Linked DNA regions of Homo sapiens: all the other regions are linked to region 1. Evidence: promoter capture Hi-C in human tissues and cell types (Jung and others, 2019). All regions are on one chromosome and are shown on one strand. Each heading gives the region's core, a stretch centred on a gene start or on the middle of the fragment in contact. The rest is flanking DNA. Distances are from core to core; before and after follow the strand shown.

Region 1 (4,978 bases), core at 1,492-3,991:
AACCAAAGGAAAAGAATAAAAAACTAGCTTGAGTACAATTTTCACTAAATTGACATTCGGATGATAGGAATAACACTAAAATGTTAAAGGAAAATTTAACTTGAATGATCTAGACAGATAATGAATAAAAGAGAAAGTCAGGAAGAAGCAAAGAGAGGGAGGAGAAGAAAGAAAAGAAAAATAAATTAAGGAAAAGAAAAAAAAAACAACTAAATATCCCTGAAACGAAGTCTTGTTTTTAACTCTGATTTGTCCTGAAACCAGGCAACTGTGGGAATCTTGAAATTCTTTCTAAAAAAATTAAATAACAAAGAGGAAGAGGACTCCATTGCTTGGTTTCAGTTCTCTTCTAATTTTTCATAGCTTATGTTTTACTTACAGGCGTTTGTTACAGCAAAACTGTTGGCTGTCTCAATGTTGTCCACATGAGGTACCAAATTAAAAGGAGCTTCCGACGCATTGGGGCTGGTGTTATGAAGAAAAATTGCTAATCGAAAAGCAGTGTATTCCTGATCTGTGTTTCGGATGAAGAGACCACCTATTAAAAACAGCAGGAAAAGCACATTCACTGTTTCCTCTTGTCAACATTATACCCACCCCAAGCACAGTCAAATCTACTGCCATTCACAAGCACATACAATTAAAGAGCTATACCTGCCACATCTAGGGAGACTGCCCTTTGTCCCTAAGGTGCATGCTTAGTATTTAGTCTTTAGAGCAGCTCAGCTTTTTCTTGTCCTAATGTGTCTTGCTCACAATGACCTCTGAGACCATTTAGTGAATGTTCCTTTCTCTCCCTTGCCCTCCCCCTGATTCCCAGCACACTGCTACATCAGCCACCTCAGGGCAGCTCTCTCTAAGATGCATGCAGATGAGCGGAAAAGAGATTTACATTAAAATACGGAAATGAAGGGATATAGTGCCACACAGGGAAGAGGGAAATCAGAAAGAAGAAATGAACTTTATTTTCCTCCAGCTCGTGGACTCAGCCTAATTAACTCCGTTTTATGCACAGTCCACGAGAAATGATGCAGTGTTGAGGCTGGGCTTAGCTGGAAGAAATTCAATAGCTGCGTCCCATTAAAAGACAGTAGAGGAGAATAGCAAGAAAAGCCAAGGATGGAGGGTGTCCCTGGAAACAGAGTCGAGGTAGAGAAATAAGGGCAAAAGCTTCAAGAAGAAAACAAAATAAAAGGGGAGAAGCTTCCAGGAAAGGGATCTAACTTTGGAATCTGCTAACTGGTAGCAAGAAACGGCAGGGCGTGCGGGTGGAAATGTCTTTTTCCTCAAACAGTGTCTTTCTGTAATAGCAAGAAAGCTGCGGCGTCCAGAATGGGAAGAAGTGGATTTTTTTTTTCTTTTTTAAACAAACTCGACATCACTTTATGCTTTAGAGAAAGGGATGGAAATAAATATCATATAAAATACAACCAAATTCCCCGAAGACTTTCCCCCAACTTATTTCAATCCTACTTAAGCGACTATAGGTAAAGGTGGAAATAGGGCTATGGGCTGAGAACGCATGGGTGGGCTGCCCTGGGTGTATTCCAACGGAACCTGCACTAAAGAGGAAGTCTTTTTGCAAAGGAGAGAAAGGAAGAGGAGGGAAACAGAGGGGAAGGGAACTGCTGAAGGTTTCCCTGAATTGCTTATCAGCAACTCATTTAACTCACTTTCGGATATCTGCTACAACCAGCCACATGCACACCCCATCGGAGCACACCTTACCTATTTGCACGCTGCTCGGAAAGGCTCCCATGGCGAGTCCCCAAAATCCAGAAAATAACAAGACAATCTGTCTGGAAATAATCCTCATCTTCTTTTCTCCTCTCCCTGGCGCGCGCTCTCTCTCTTTCTCTCGCACTCTTCCTAAAGGCTGTTCAGAGAAGCATTGAAGACGATGGCGCTAAAATTAAAATCAACCAAAAAAAAAAAAAAAAAAAGAAAAGAAAGAAAAGAAAGAAAAAAAAGGAAAGAGGTTTCGGTGGTTTAAGATTATGACTAGTTCTCCTTAGCAATCCATCGCGAGCCGCCAGATTTTTCCCGCAGTCTCCATAGCCCTGGGAGAGGTTTTCTGTCCGGCTGCAAATGTTGCACATGCAAAAGATGGTGGTGGAGCGTCTAGTGGCTGCTCGCAGGGATGAGACATGCGCTCTATCTTTGCCTCACTCGCACTCGCGCTCGCCCCTTGCTTTCTCACATACACACAAACACTGGCGCCGCGGCCGCCACACGCGCTCTCCAGCTCGCATCAGCCGACATCCCCCAGCAAGCCTGCACCAGCCCGGAGCATCGCTGCCCTCCTGGCGTCCCCTCCTCGAGCGCGCACTCCCTCCGCACGCCCCTCGCCCACCGCTCGGCTGGCTTCACCCCCTGGGTGCTCACCGGAGCGCCCCAGTCTCCCGGACGCTCCGGAGCCAGTCTGGTGTCAGGTTTTCCCTTCTGACCACTCGCTGACTCCCTCCTCTTTTCTTCCTCGGTTCGCAGAGGGACCGACTCTGGGGATGGGCACCCCCAGCGCCCCTCTCTTGGTTTTCCTGGCACCTCTGCTTCTCGGCTGCGCTAGGCAGAAAATCCGCCCACGGGCCAGGTCTGCAAGCCCCAATCGGGGGCTCCGGGGGGTTAGTACCTCCCCATGCCCCCAGGCCCCTGCCGCATCCTTGCAGGTTCGTGAGGAGGACGGGCTGCCTCCCTCTCCTACAGTCCTGGCTTCCCTCTCAGCCTAGCCCTCTTCTGCCACTGGGCTGCGCGCGGGGGACTCCGGTCCTCGCTGCAGCAAAGATTTCTCACCAGCAAACAGCCCGGGAATCTGGAGAGCCTGACAAGGGAATGGATGAGGTGAAAGGGTTCAGAGAGGGATGGGAGGAGAAAAGACAGGCAAAGGGCAGCCCCTGGCGGGTTTAAGAGGCCAGGACCAGGATGAAAGAATTGGAGGAGGTAAGGATGGGGAAGAGAGCCAGAGAAGTTGAAACATCCTGGGAAGGGGAGGAGGGGGTAAAAGGTTATTTTAAATAACTGACGAAGTTTAGGGTACTGAACGGGATGGGGAAAAGACTGAGAAATGAAAATTGAAAGAGGCCTCTAACATTCTCTTGGAAAGGCATGAAGCAGGGATAGGAATAAGAACTGCGTGAAGTGTAAAGTAGGAAAAGTGATTAAAGATTCGATTGCTTTCTATACAGTCACCCATTCCGGAGGACTCTTTCCTTCTGTGCTGTGGCCCATTGCAGGAGCAGGAGGGACACAGCGCAAAGGCTGATGAAGGACCAGAGGGGCAGTGCTTGGGGCAGTGGGCACAGGTGTCTGACAGGAAGATAGTGTTTCGTGCACATCTCCTCTTGTCTGGGACTCTGGAATGCTCACTCTGCTCCACGCCACCTCCAGGTAGACTTAAGCACTTCAGTGATGATGTCAATAGTTGTTTTGACTGGGTAGAAGTGAAAATGAATTATCCTAGAAAGTTTTGGGGTTACAGTCTCACTTGCTCTCCAGAGTCACCTTTAAGATTGTCCTTTCATCTGCCTGTCCTGGACTGAGCTTGAACCACACTCAGAAGCAGTCACTGTGGTAGCCGTGAGTGACCGGTTTCTGATTTCCTCTGTATGGTTTGAGATTTCCTGATCTAGTTAGTAAATACAATCTCCTGTTCCAATAAGCTGTGTGAGAGAATCATTAGAAGGAGAGGTTCTCCTTAAACGTTAGGGAACCTAGGGTGATGTCTGCCATTAAATTTTTAAAAAGAATATAGCAAATGCCTAGGTTTGCCTGATATAATATTTGAGACTACAATGCTTAAAGTGGAATTCTTGCAAGGGACTTACAGAAAGCCTGGTAACGGCTTTTTGAAATATACATTACCTTAACTCTTTCAAAATACTTTATTTGGTGTCACTGATTACCTGTATTTGTAGTTTGTAGATGACATTTTAAAATCCCTGCTAAAACTTGAGTGCTTTTCTATTTCCTAAGTTTTGAATTTTATTTTTAAAATTGCATCTTTAAAATAAGTGTCTGCTTTCCCGTTACATTTCACCACAGATTGTTATGAAAAAAAAAACCTAATTGTAACTGTATTTTACAAATCATACATTTGTCATTTTAGTTTGTGAAGTTTTAGTCTTGCAAGTCAAGTGAAATTTGAAGCATTTTTCCTTTTTTTATTTTTCTGTGTTAAAAAACAAGGCTGTGAATAATAGCATTCTGTTTTCTCTTGAAAAAGGATAATAGAGTATGACACATAAAATTCAAGTTAAATTAAAATTTCAAAATCCACCAAACTGTTAAACTCATCACTTGCTTGGGTAACTAGTGAAGCTCTTCCTGATCCAGAGGCAATTATTAACTTTAATTCTTCTCAAAATTGAAAGATTTCAGTTTTCATATGATGTAATAGCATCATTGATATAGATGCAGGACAAGTTTTTTTTCCCCACTTAACTGTCATGATAACACCTGGACTAATATAACCACAGATGACACAACTATATTTTTCCAAAATAGTAATCCAGTTGTTTTTAATTTCTATTTTCCCAAGTAGTTAAAACCTCTATTTTACTTTCTAAACCTAAACTCTCTTTATCTGTATTATATACACATATATTTATAAATGTATGTATCAAATATATTTTCTCTGTATGATACATAGAAATATCATATATACATATATTATATACGTATATACATGTATATAGATGTACATATATGTCAAATAGTTATATATTAAGCACCTATGATGTGTATTTATTCTCCAAGTGTTTGAGATATAAAGTTGAACAAAACAAAATCCCTGATATTCTTAGAAGACTCTTAATGTTTATGAATGCTCACTAATGTGCAAGGTATTGTGCTGAAGCCATACATATATTACCTGATCTACAGAAAATTTTAGGTATCCTTGCATTTGTTAGGTAACCCAACTAAAGATTTAGATTCTTTCTCAAGATTATATTCTTGGTAAGTGATGAAACCATAACTAAGG
Region 2 (4,978 bases), core at 1,307-3,806, 110 kb before region 1:
TCCTAATGCCAATCACAATTCTGTCCAGCAAACACAATGAGTGATTGGGAAAATGGGGAACCCTATTGAGTTGTCCCTGTCTTTAGAGTGAAAAATAGAACTCTTTGTAGCACTTACCGAACTCTCAATTTAAAAATTGAGTGCTAAGATCAGGTACGAATGCCTGAAGAAGCTCAGATTGTCCATTCTAGAAATCAACACTGTATAGTTAAAATGTCAGCAGTCACCTTCCTTTTAAATTTAAAAAAAACAAGAGAGAGAGATCAGCTTTTTAAGAATAAGTGCTTCGTGTTAATGCCTCAGATCTGGAGCTCCACGGCATAACTCTGATGTAAGCTCATTCATGCCTGACTCCCTACCTTGTTTCCCCTGGCTTGTTCCAAACTCCTAAGTAAGCAGCTGATTGGAATTGACAAGAATCCTGCTCAAGGAGCCTCAGCAAGCACAAATCTTTTCCATTTCAATACTCTGGTAGCTCAAAGGAATGAGCTGCCAAGGGAGCAGTGGAATGGAAAATCATGCGTGCATTCCCTCTCCTTCCGTGAGTATCCACATTAACAGTAAACTTTGGCCTTCAAGTAGCTCCTTTTAGGAGGTGTTCCTTAACTAGGTCGAGACACCACCATTACCACCATGAACCCAATGCATGTGTTAGGTAATTGTTCCACCTACAGTGGACTGAAATTAGTTTCCTCATTCTTTTCTATTTGTAGTATCATGAGACAGCAATCGTTTTCTGTTGTAATTTATATGGGTTTTAAGGTCTTTGAATGCTTCTCCACCTCCCTCAAATATCCATCCATTTATTCATCCAGTGAATCAAATTTGTTGACATTTGCTTTACGCAAAGCATCACAACAGCTGAGGTGGGAGGAGATTGTGCTTATGGTACGATAATATTGGTACCTTTGTCTGGAGCCTCACTCTCCATTACAGGCATCAGTCATCTGTGAATTAAACCAAGGATCTAAACATGCCCCCTTAAAATAATTACACTAATGAAAGCTTGGAAGAGCTTAATTGGCTGATCCTCAGTCAGTGCTACACATGTAGTCTATATACTTGTGTGACCACACCTAATTCTATACATTGGCTTCATAGGTTGTTCTAGCCTTAAATATTTTAAGACTCAGTGTTTACTTTTTCCATATTCTGGGCTTATGTTTGAGGTGAGCCATAGTAAATAATTTTGGTTTTAATTTTAGAGCACTGTTAGCCAACCAATGATCCATTTCTTTTTTCAAGAGAACAAAGCCTCATTGTTCAGTTCCCACCTATGAGTGAGAATATGCGGTGTTTGGTTTTTTGTTCTTGCATAGTTTACTGAGAATGATGATTTCCAATTTCATCCATGTCCCTACAAAGGGCATGAACTCATCATTTTTTATGGCTGCATAGTATTCCATGGGGACTGTTGTGGGGTGGGGGGAGGGGGGAGGGATAGCATTGGGAGATATACCTAATGCTAGATGACGAGTTAGTGGGTGCAGCGCACCAGCATGACACATGTATACATATGTAACTAACCTGCACATTGTGCACATGTACCCTAAAACTTAAAGTATAATAATAATAAATAAAAAAAAAGAAAAAAGAGAGAACAAAGGCTGTACTTAAAAATCTTCGTTTAACTCTATGTTATGTCTTTTCTTTGTTGTAAGTCATTGCAAGACGACTTGAAAGTTGGGAAAATTTATTACCATTGGAATTTGTACTTCTCTCCCCTGGAATGACTATTCCTCCCTTCCAAGAAAAAAAAAACTTGTAAGAATGTCTTTTTAGAAATTCAGAAACATATATCATGGGATTAATTAAAGAGTCTCACTGAGACAGAATCTTGCTTTTGGAGAGATAGTGAGATTTAGCTTTATTTCTTGTTGTCTAAGGGCGTATAATTAAGAGTTTGCTAAGAAAATAACTGCTAGAGTGGCTTAGGTAGGAGCAGAATTCCCATTAAGATTTTTTTTTTCTTTTTATGCTTTTAGGGCAAATATGGTATATTTATAGTCACAGAGAAAAATTAGCTGGTATGGAGCTTGCCATGCTCTGAAATGAAAGAATGAATTTTAAAAGGTGGTTTATGAAACTGGACATGCTTGGACTGGGATTTCAGGAATTCTTAGCTCCAATCCACCTTTTCTAGTGACTCATTCTATGGAGATGAAGATAATGTTAACCTCATTTTCAACATAAGGGGAAAATATTCACTTGTTTGGGATATTCTGAAGATTAATGAATAAGTTATCACGGAGGACTTTGCTAAGATAAACCTCCATGTAACACTGAATAATAAGGATTGCAGAGAGTAAGAAAAGGCAAAGACTCAGTTTCTCCTTTTTTCTTTTTTTATGGATTAGAGCAACTGCCTATCAAGTTGTAAAACGTGAGAACAATTTGCTCTTCTAAAAGTAAGGCATCGAGGTAATTTAAATTATAATATAGTATATTCTCTAGTTAAAGATTAGAGTCCATCTGAGAGTGAAGTTTTTGATCATTCCCCACTTTTACATAATGTTTGCCCCCTGCTACATACCGATGTTTCTGCTGAGTTATGAAACTTCATAATAGGATGTGTCTAGAGAAAATGGTTAAATTGATGTTAAGTGCAAACTATTCTTCTCTAGGGAATTATATTGCTTGCATTGATACGTTGTTAATGATGTATAGAGTTTTCTGTACAGTGATGATGTGTAGCTTAGGAGTCTCTGCAAAACTGTCCACCAATTGCTTTCTAACCAGAGTTATCAGAAATAGGACAGCACACTGTGTTACAACTTAGATAATTTAGGTTTTCAGTGATTGTGATACATTTTATTTTAGGAAACTAAATTTTTCATTCCATTTTAACCACTGTATTATCATTTAAAATTGTTCAAATTAAGGAACTTGAGAATACAGTTATAAATAAAACAACTAAAAGTAATTTGAATTATATACATTATCAAATAAGCTAGAAGTAAGTATATTACTTTACTATGTAAATAGGAGCTGTTTTATTTCTTTCTTCTGTGTTATTGCAAAATTTACATTTAATAGTAGCTAAAATGTGTTCCACAAGATATAATGGTTTCTTGTCAATCTGGGATCCTTCAATTCATTCCAAAACCTCTGTATGTGTTTATAGATAAGTTCTTGCATATGTGAAAAAAGGGTTGGTTGCAGTGGATAAGAAACTTTTAAACTTTTAGGGAAATTACAGTCATGTCTAATATAAAATTATGCTTTTTACTATGCCAAGGCTAATTGCATTTTAGTTTGTTATTTTTAATGTTTGTAACAGAGCCCTGTATGTCTACTTTCCTCTTCTTCCTGGGCCTCACTTGCAATTAGTTGCAGCTGAGTGATTAAGTCTTTCCCGTTGGGCATTGAGTAGAAATAACGTGGGCCATTTTCAGGCCTGACACATTTCACCTACAGTGTGTACTTTGTACTTGTTTTCCTGTTAGCCGAAGGCAGATGACATGGATGCTTTAAAGGATGGTAGCGCCACGAGATGAAGGGACCCTGGGTCCCTTAAGACAAAGTGGAGAGAAACCCCAACCCCATTGAATTGAAAACCCACTGTAGAGTTATGACTTCTCCTTTAATCATCCTTAATTCTTTGGGTCATTTTGTTACTGCAGCTTAGCCTATTCTAACTAGTACAGAATTACATTCTTTAAAATCCTTTTTGCTCGTCTAATACACAAATATATTCTATTATCTAAAAACTGGCTCAAATTTGGTATTTTCTGTAGCCTTTCTTAATCTTTTGTATTGATATTAATGACCTCTTCCTGGTCTGACTTCTTGTACTAATCATTTGACTATTAATGAGAGAGCAACATCTATCTGTAGGCTTCTTGGTCATCAAAACAAAAAGGGAAACATAGACAGTTACATAATTTTATTTTCAGTGGGGATTAAGCATAACAGGTCCTGGTTGGAGGTTAAAGATATATCTCTAGTACTAAATTCTAAAAGATGTTTCAAACATAAGACTTAATATAGGGAAGGTAGTCATATAATAGAAAATGTCCTCAACAACGTGCCTTCAGCAAGTGTAATGAAAAGATGTAATAGTATGGTTACAGCATCTTTTGATTATGACCATTGTCATGATTGGCAACTCCTCAGAATGCTAAGGTAACATGTAGCAAATAAGTGATTGCTGTTTATTGACTACGCTGATTTACACTGATTTGAAAGTCCACTTTTAGAAATTCTCCATAAGATATAATCGCTGTTTTTTTCAGATTTTTAAAATGATGATTTTGTTGCAATCAATTGTGATTGTTATTGCCATCAAGTCTGGCCTTGACTGTAGATTCACAGTTACTGGTTGAAGGTGAAGCTCTTACACTGGAGACCAGAAAAGCTGATGGTTTGACTGTCATCCTTTTGTGGACATTAGTGAACCTAACCTAGACCCTTTACTAATCGAAGTCTCTCAGAGACACCTGCAGAAACAGCCAGAACACACACACACACGAACACACACACACACTCTTCTGGGTCTGTCCCAACTGAAGACCTAAAACGGCTAAAGATCAAATAATTATTCTGTTCAGTATAATTAATTTACATTTCTAAAACAGATGTTGTCATCATAATTTAATAAATATCTTTATTGGCCTGTCTCGTTTCAGCAATATAGGGTCTTGGTGAATCTGAATAATATAATTATTTGAAAATATATCTCCTAAGATGATTTTACTAGAAATGAATCCATTACATTTTGTAAGATAATTGATGTTTTATAATAAAGTATACTCAAGTCTTAAGCATGATAATATTTAGGCAACAAAATCAACTGTTCGTTGAGGTCATAGTTACTTTCAGACAGAATGGATATATCATTTTATGATGGAGACTTATTCACTTATTTATTGTAGGGAAGCATTCAACCAAATTATCTCAAAGTGATATCAGATTGTTAAAATATTAAGAAATTTAAAACAGTGTGATTTGATGATACATACTCTCTAGCAGAATTTTT
Region 3 (4,978 bases), core at 1,754-4,253, 67 kb after region 1:
TAGGGTGCAGAGAACAGCACCTGAGAGTGTTGGCATGCTGAATGCTTTGAATTAAAAGAAATCAGAAGGCCATAAATGCTGCCTCAGAAACAAAAACTTTCTAAACTTTTATTTTTTCTTTCCCACCCAAGAGCAGGAAGGAATGCTCTCTGGATATATATATCTCTGGATATATATATATATATGTGTGTGTCTGTGTGTATGTATGTATGTGTATATATGTATATATATACACATACATACATATATATACACACACATATATATATCTCCACATACACATATATAATTTATATAATTTTTTTTTGAGACAAGGTCTTCCTCTGCCACTCAGGCTGGACTGCAATGGTGTAATCACAGCTCATGGCAGCCTTGACCTACCAGGCTCAAGTGATCCTCCTGCATCAGCCTCTTAAGTACCTGGAACTACAGGTGCATGCTACCATGACTGGCTTTTTTTTTTTTTTGTAGAGACAGGATCTCACTATGTTGCCCAGGATGGTCTCAAACTCCGAGGCACAAGTGATCCTCCCTTCTCGGCCTTCCAAAGTGCTAGATTACAGGCATAAGCTACCATGCCCAGCCTGGATTTTTTTTTTTATCTGACGAACACGCCTTGTTTGTAAAATAAATGTAATTGTCTGGAGACCCCCATCATAGGAATCTCATGAAATAAGTAGGAAAGATGAACTACTACAGAAAATAAATTAAAAACTGTCAGCAACTGCAAACAGACTTTTCATCTATTCTTCTAAGGGCAATTCTGATTATCTGGGAGTCTTTATTTGCATGAAAACACAAACTTTCTTCACAGTGAAGTCTACCCCTCACCTTCCCACCACCTGCCCCAGGGTGCAGAAGAACTTTGTTTCTGGCCATTCTTCTTTGGGCTTATTCATTTTATCTGAAAATTATTTACTACCCCTAAAATTACTGACAGACCCCCATTTCACTCTAAGATGGAAGAGGGGATTTAAGCCTCAACCATCTGGCCTTGGTTTGAGTATCATATTTGCAGGACTCCATGTCCATATATATGTAAATACATTTATATGACTTTTTCTCCTATTCATCTGTCTATTGTCAGTCATTCTAGTGAACCTTCAGAAAGGGTTAATGGGGCTGGACCTGGTGGCTCACACCTATAATCCCAGCACTTTGGGAGGCTGAGGCAGGTGGGTCACTTGAGCACAGGAGTTTGAAAAAAATAGCCAGGCATGAAGATATGTTATTATACTTCCAGCTACTCAGGAGGCTGAGGTGGGAGAATCACCTGAACCCAGGAGGTCGAAGCTGCAGTGATCCATGACTGTGACAATCCATTCTAGCCTGGGCAATGGGGTGAGACCCTGTCTCAAAAAACAAAAACAAACAAACAAACAATCAAAAAAAGAGAGTGAATGGGAAGCTTTTCCTCTGCACCTACATTTTTAATCACCACATGCTAAATATTCCATAAAACCTAAATTCCAATTTGAACTTGATGGCTCTCAGTATTAGCAAACTTTACTTTGCAGCTTATCTGTATTTTCAATATCCATATATTAATTAATTTTTATTTAGTCCCTCAGGTAATAGTTTCTTCCCCTCTACAGTGCCTTCTGCCCGGACGAAACTGTTTTGCTTCTGCCACAGGATTACGCACCTTCAAAATAATATTATAAGATGAGAATCACCCATAAAAGTATTTTAGTTCTTTACATTACTTTAAAAATCTACTCACCTGAGTCAGCATTTTAAGTACAGTCAATTTGCTTATGTTCTCATATATTATCTTCAGCTATATTTTAGTACAATGAGTTTCAAAACTGTGATGTTTGCAGAATTCATCTAGGGCATTGGTAAAAAGACAGGTTCTTAGGCAATCCAAAACATTTCTAGCCAATAGCTCTTAGGAAGAGTTGAAATGCCTAAATTTTCATTAAGGACCCTGTGTAATTATGATGCTGGTGATAGTATTGTCTCTGGAGCAAACTTTGAAAAATTTGGATCCTCACCGTTTATCCTTCATAAATCTTTTCATGCAGTAGAGTCAAGAATTTAACTTTAAATACCACAAAATATCAAATATCACAGTGATAGTTGTAAATTCAGACGTTTTTCTTGTGTGTGGTGACATGATACTCTTACCAGTGCAAACCCTTATTTCACCCCAAAATTATATATTGAAATTCACATTGAGAAATTATATTTGAGTATTTATAAAATTGTTCATGATCTTATATAGTACACTATTCATTATTAAGGATTTAATTGATATGCTGGCTAATTATGATATTACATAATTACTAATTAATGTGCTTATTAGCAATGGATGTCTCTAAGATCCTGATGTCAACGGAGATGACAACTCATGCTGGAATACTGCCTTACAAGATAAAGTACATTAAGCCAAGCTCCTTTTGGCAATTCAGAATCTAAATGTTATTGCCTGGAATCCAGGATACAATTGCCTTATTATAGCAAACTCTGGCCTGTAGTAAATCCAATTAAAGCATATTTCTAGTTTACTTTAAGGCTTAATTGTAGTGCATTTAGTTATAAAGCTCAATACATCAAAGAATCAAAGTTCAAAACAATAAAACCAGAAGAAGGACAAAAAAAATGATAAAAAGGATAAAAATACAGCTCTTATTAGTAAAGATTAGACTAATACAATCTTCAAATTAGAAATCACCTTTGTGGTTGTCCAGTATCATCTGCTTTACAAAGAAAGAATTTCCTTTTTGTAGTCATCCATTTTCTAAACATGGCCAGAGGCAAGGAGGGATCTAATCCATGCTTCTCTTGAAGTAGTCTTATCTCCTGGTAGATAGCAGTAAACATTAGACCTATCTTCCTTATATTTAACCAAAGATGGCATTCCTATACTTTTCTAACTGGAATTGATCATGAAATAACTCTGTATCCTATCTCTTACGGCAGGAGGGGTAGAGGTGGGGATATGTGGAGTGGGCTGAACTAACATTAATATTTTATCTTGTGTACTAGATATTTGAAATGTATTGAGAATTTCTCTTTTTATTTGATTCTGTTTTATTTGATTCGACTATGAAGAAGATATCCACATCCACCCCCAGCCGTAATTTAGAGATACAGAGTCTATGACTTGGAGAAGTTAAACAGCCTGTTCATGGTCATAACTTACAGGGATGAGAGTCAGACTAGAACCTGGATCAATTTAATTAATCCTTTTAGTTAATCCTTTTAACTTCTTCAGTTACTAATGGATTGAGAGCTGTCAATCAGCCTTTACTTCTTTACATCTATTATATTGTTGGGGCTCATAAGATAATACCATAATGCTGAACACTTTTGAAATAAAATTCCCACCCACCCCTAAGAATCTCATTAAATAACCAGGAAATATTAACCTCCAGAGAAGACAAAAAACTAAAAGTCCTCACCATATCCAGGTAGACTTTTCATCTATTCTAAGACCAGCCCCAAGAGATTATCTGGGAGAGTTTATCTTCATAATAAGACCTTTGTTCACAGTGCAGTTCCACCCCTCATCTTTCCTATGACTTGCAGGTCCCATTCAGTCCAAAGAGAATAATTTACAAACTATTGTCTGCTCTTTGGGCCCATTCATCTCTTTTAAAAATAATTTAATACTTCTCAAAAACGGCTTACATTCTCCAATCTCCCTTCCCCCATGAAGAGGGTTCTACTTAAGTTTCATTCATCTGGGCCTTCTTTGAGTCTCATCTTCTGTATTGCTCTTCTGCTTACGCACATTAATGCATTTGTATGTCTTTTCTTCTATTAAACCATCCATTGTCAGCTTATTTCACCAGGCTTCAGTCCTCAGAGTAGGAGGGAAAATTCTCTTTACCCTTAAATTGTACCATGCACTATTTTAAGTACTGAATATGTACTGGTGAACAAATCACATAGTTTCTAATTTCAAAACATTTATTCTCTAGTGGAATAAACAAATATAAACTATGTATAAAATATAGGTTAACAAAGATCATATAAATGCATCAGTGATAGATACTGTGAACGAAATAAAGAATGAATAAGTAGGGAAACATTTAGGTAGAACTCTCGAGGAGTTTTTTCACAGAAAGTAACATCTGAGCTGGGGCCTCAGGGAGGAAGTTGGCGGGAGGAAGGAGTAAGAACATTCCAAGAACAATTTCAAATGTGAAACTTTATTTCAAAGTTTGAAAGCTGGTAAAAACCATGCTCAAGGAATTGAAACACCACCAATGTGGCTGAAACAAAGCGCCTAAAGGGGAGAGTGGCTAGGAAGGCAGGCTTCCTAAATCAAGGAATTATCTACCGCTCACTCTCCTCCCTACCACTTTTCTTAAACATTTCTCTACGGCAGTGATTACCAAGTAGCCCAATGCCTGACCTTCTGGGAGTCACACAGCCTTCTTCATCATAATCAACACTCATTCTCAGAATCTCAGTGCCGTAACTCTTCTGTTCTGGGCGATACCAAGTTCAATTTTAACGAAGCTCTTTTAGTTCCAAGAAACAGACACAGCCAGACCAGTCTGAAAATTTTTATTTTCTGAAAAATGTAACTTGTAAGAACACACGTAGAGCAAAAGGGAGAAACTTGGAAATTTTTACGCAAGTAAGCCAGGCTGAACCTCCTAATGCATGAGGACTGGGCTGGTCCTTGTTTCACAGGGTGGACTCTAGAGTCGTCCTTGCATCCCAGAATTTGAGACCTAATCCATGATTAATCTTGAAACTGCTCCAGTGTGTTTGAGAGAACAGGCATTCTCTAACTGACGCAAAGTTGTATGTATGTCCATTTATATTAAGCTTAATTATATTGCCCCAAATTTTCTATAACTTTCCTAATTTTCTGTATTGTACTTATCAATATTTAGGAGAGAGATTTATTGAAGTCTCTCATTCCAATGGTAGATGTGTCAATTTTCCAATTTAATTTGTATTAATGTTTGCTTTATATCATATGAACCCATTTTATTATTTGGAGATATTTAGAATT

The links. Contacts are between HindIII fragments. The study calls those that stand out against the background at their distance.
Region 2: a contact is called between a fragment that was not itself captured here and the fragment with the promoter of GRIA4 in region 1, in 3 of the 25 tissues and cell types used here (adrenal gland, dorsolateral prefrontal cortex and hippocampus).
Region 3: a contact is called between a fragment that was not itself captured here and the fragment with the promoter of GRIA4 in region 1, in 3 of the 25 tissues and cell types used here (heart left ventricle, lymphoblastoid cells and mesenchymal stem cells).

Annotation. Positions count from the first base shown.
Region 1 is chr11:105,607,836-105,612,813 of GRCh38, reverse strand. GRIA4 (glutamate ionotropic receptor AMPA type subunit 4) reads right to left here and starts at 2,741. Exons shown (of 17, transcript NM_000829.4): 1 at 2,386-2,741; 2 at 1,729-1,906; 3 at 380-538. The coding sequence starts at 1,816. RefSeq lists a silencer at 1,565-1,765. The HindIII fragment of the contact is 8,669 bases long and covers 1-4,978 here.
Region 2 is chr11:105,714,315-105,719,292 of GRCh38, reverse strand. All of the region lies in intron 3 of GRIA4 (glutamate ionotropic receptor AMPA type subunit 4), which reads right to left. Among named protein-coding and RNA genes, the nearest start is that of GRIA4, 110 kb to the right of the region's middle. The HindIII fragment of the contact is 7,108 bases long and covers 1-4,978 here.
Region 3 is chr11:105,540,809-105,545,786 of GRCh38, reverse strand. It overlaps a transcript of LOC105369468 not described here. Among named protein-coding and RNA genes, the nearest start is that of GRIA4, 67 kb to the left of the region's middle. The HindIII fragment of the contact is 5,063 bases long and covers 472-4,978 here.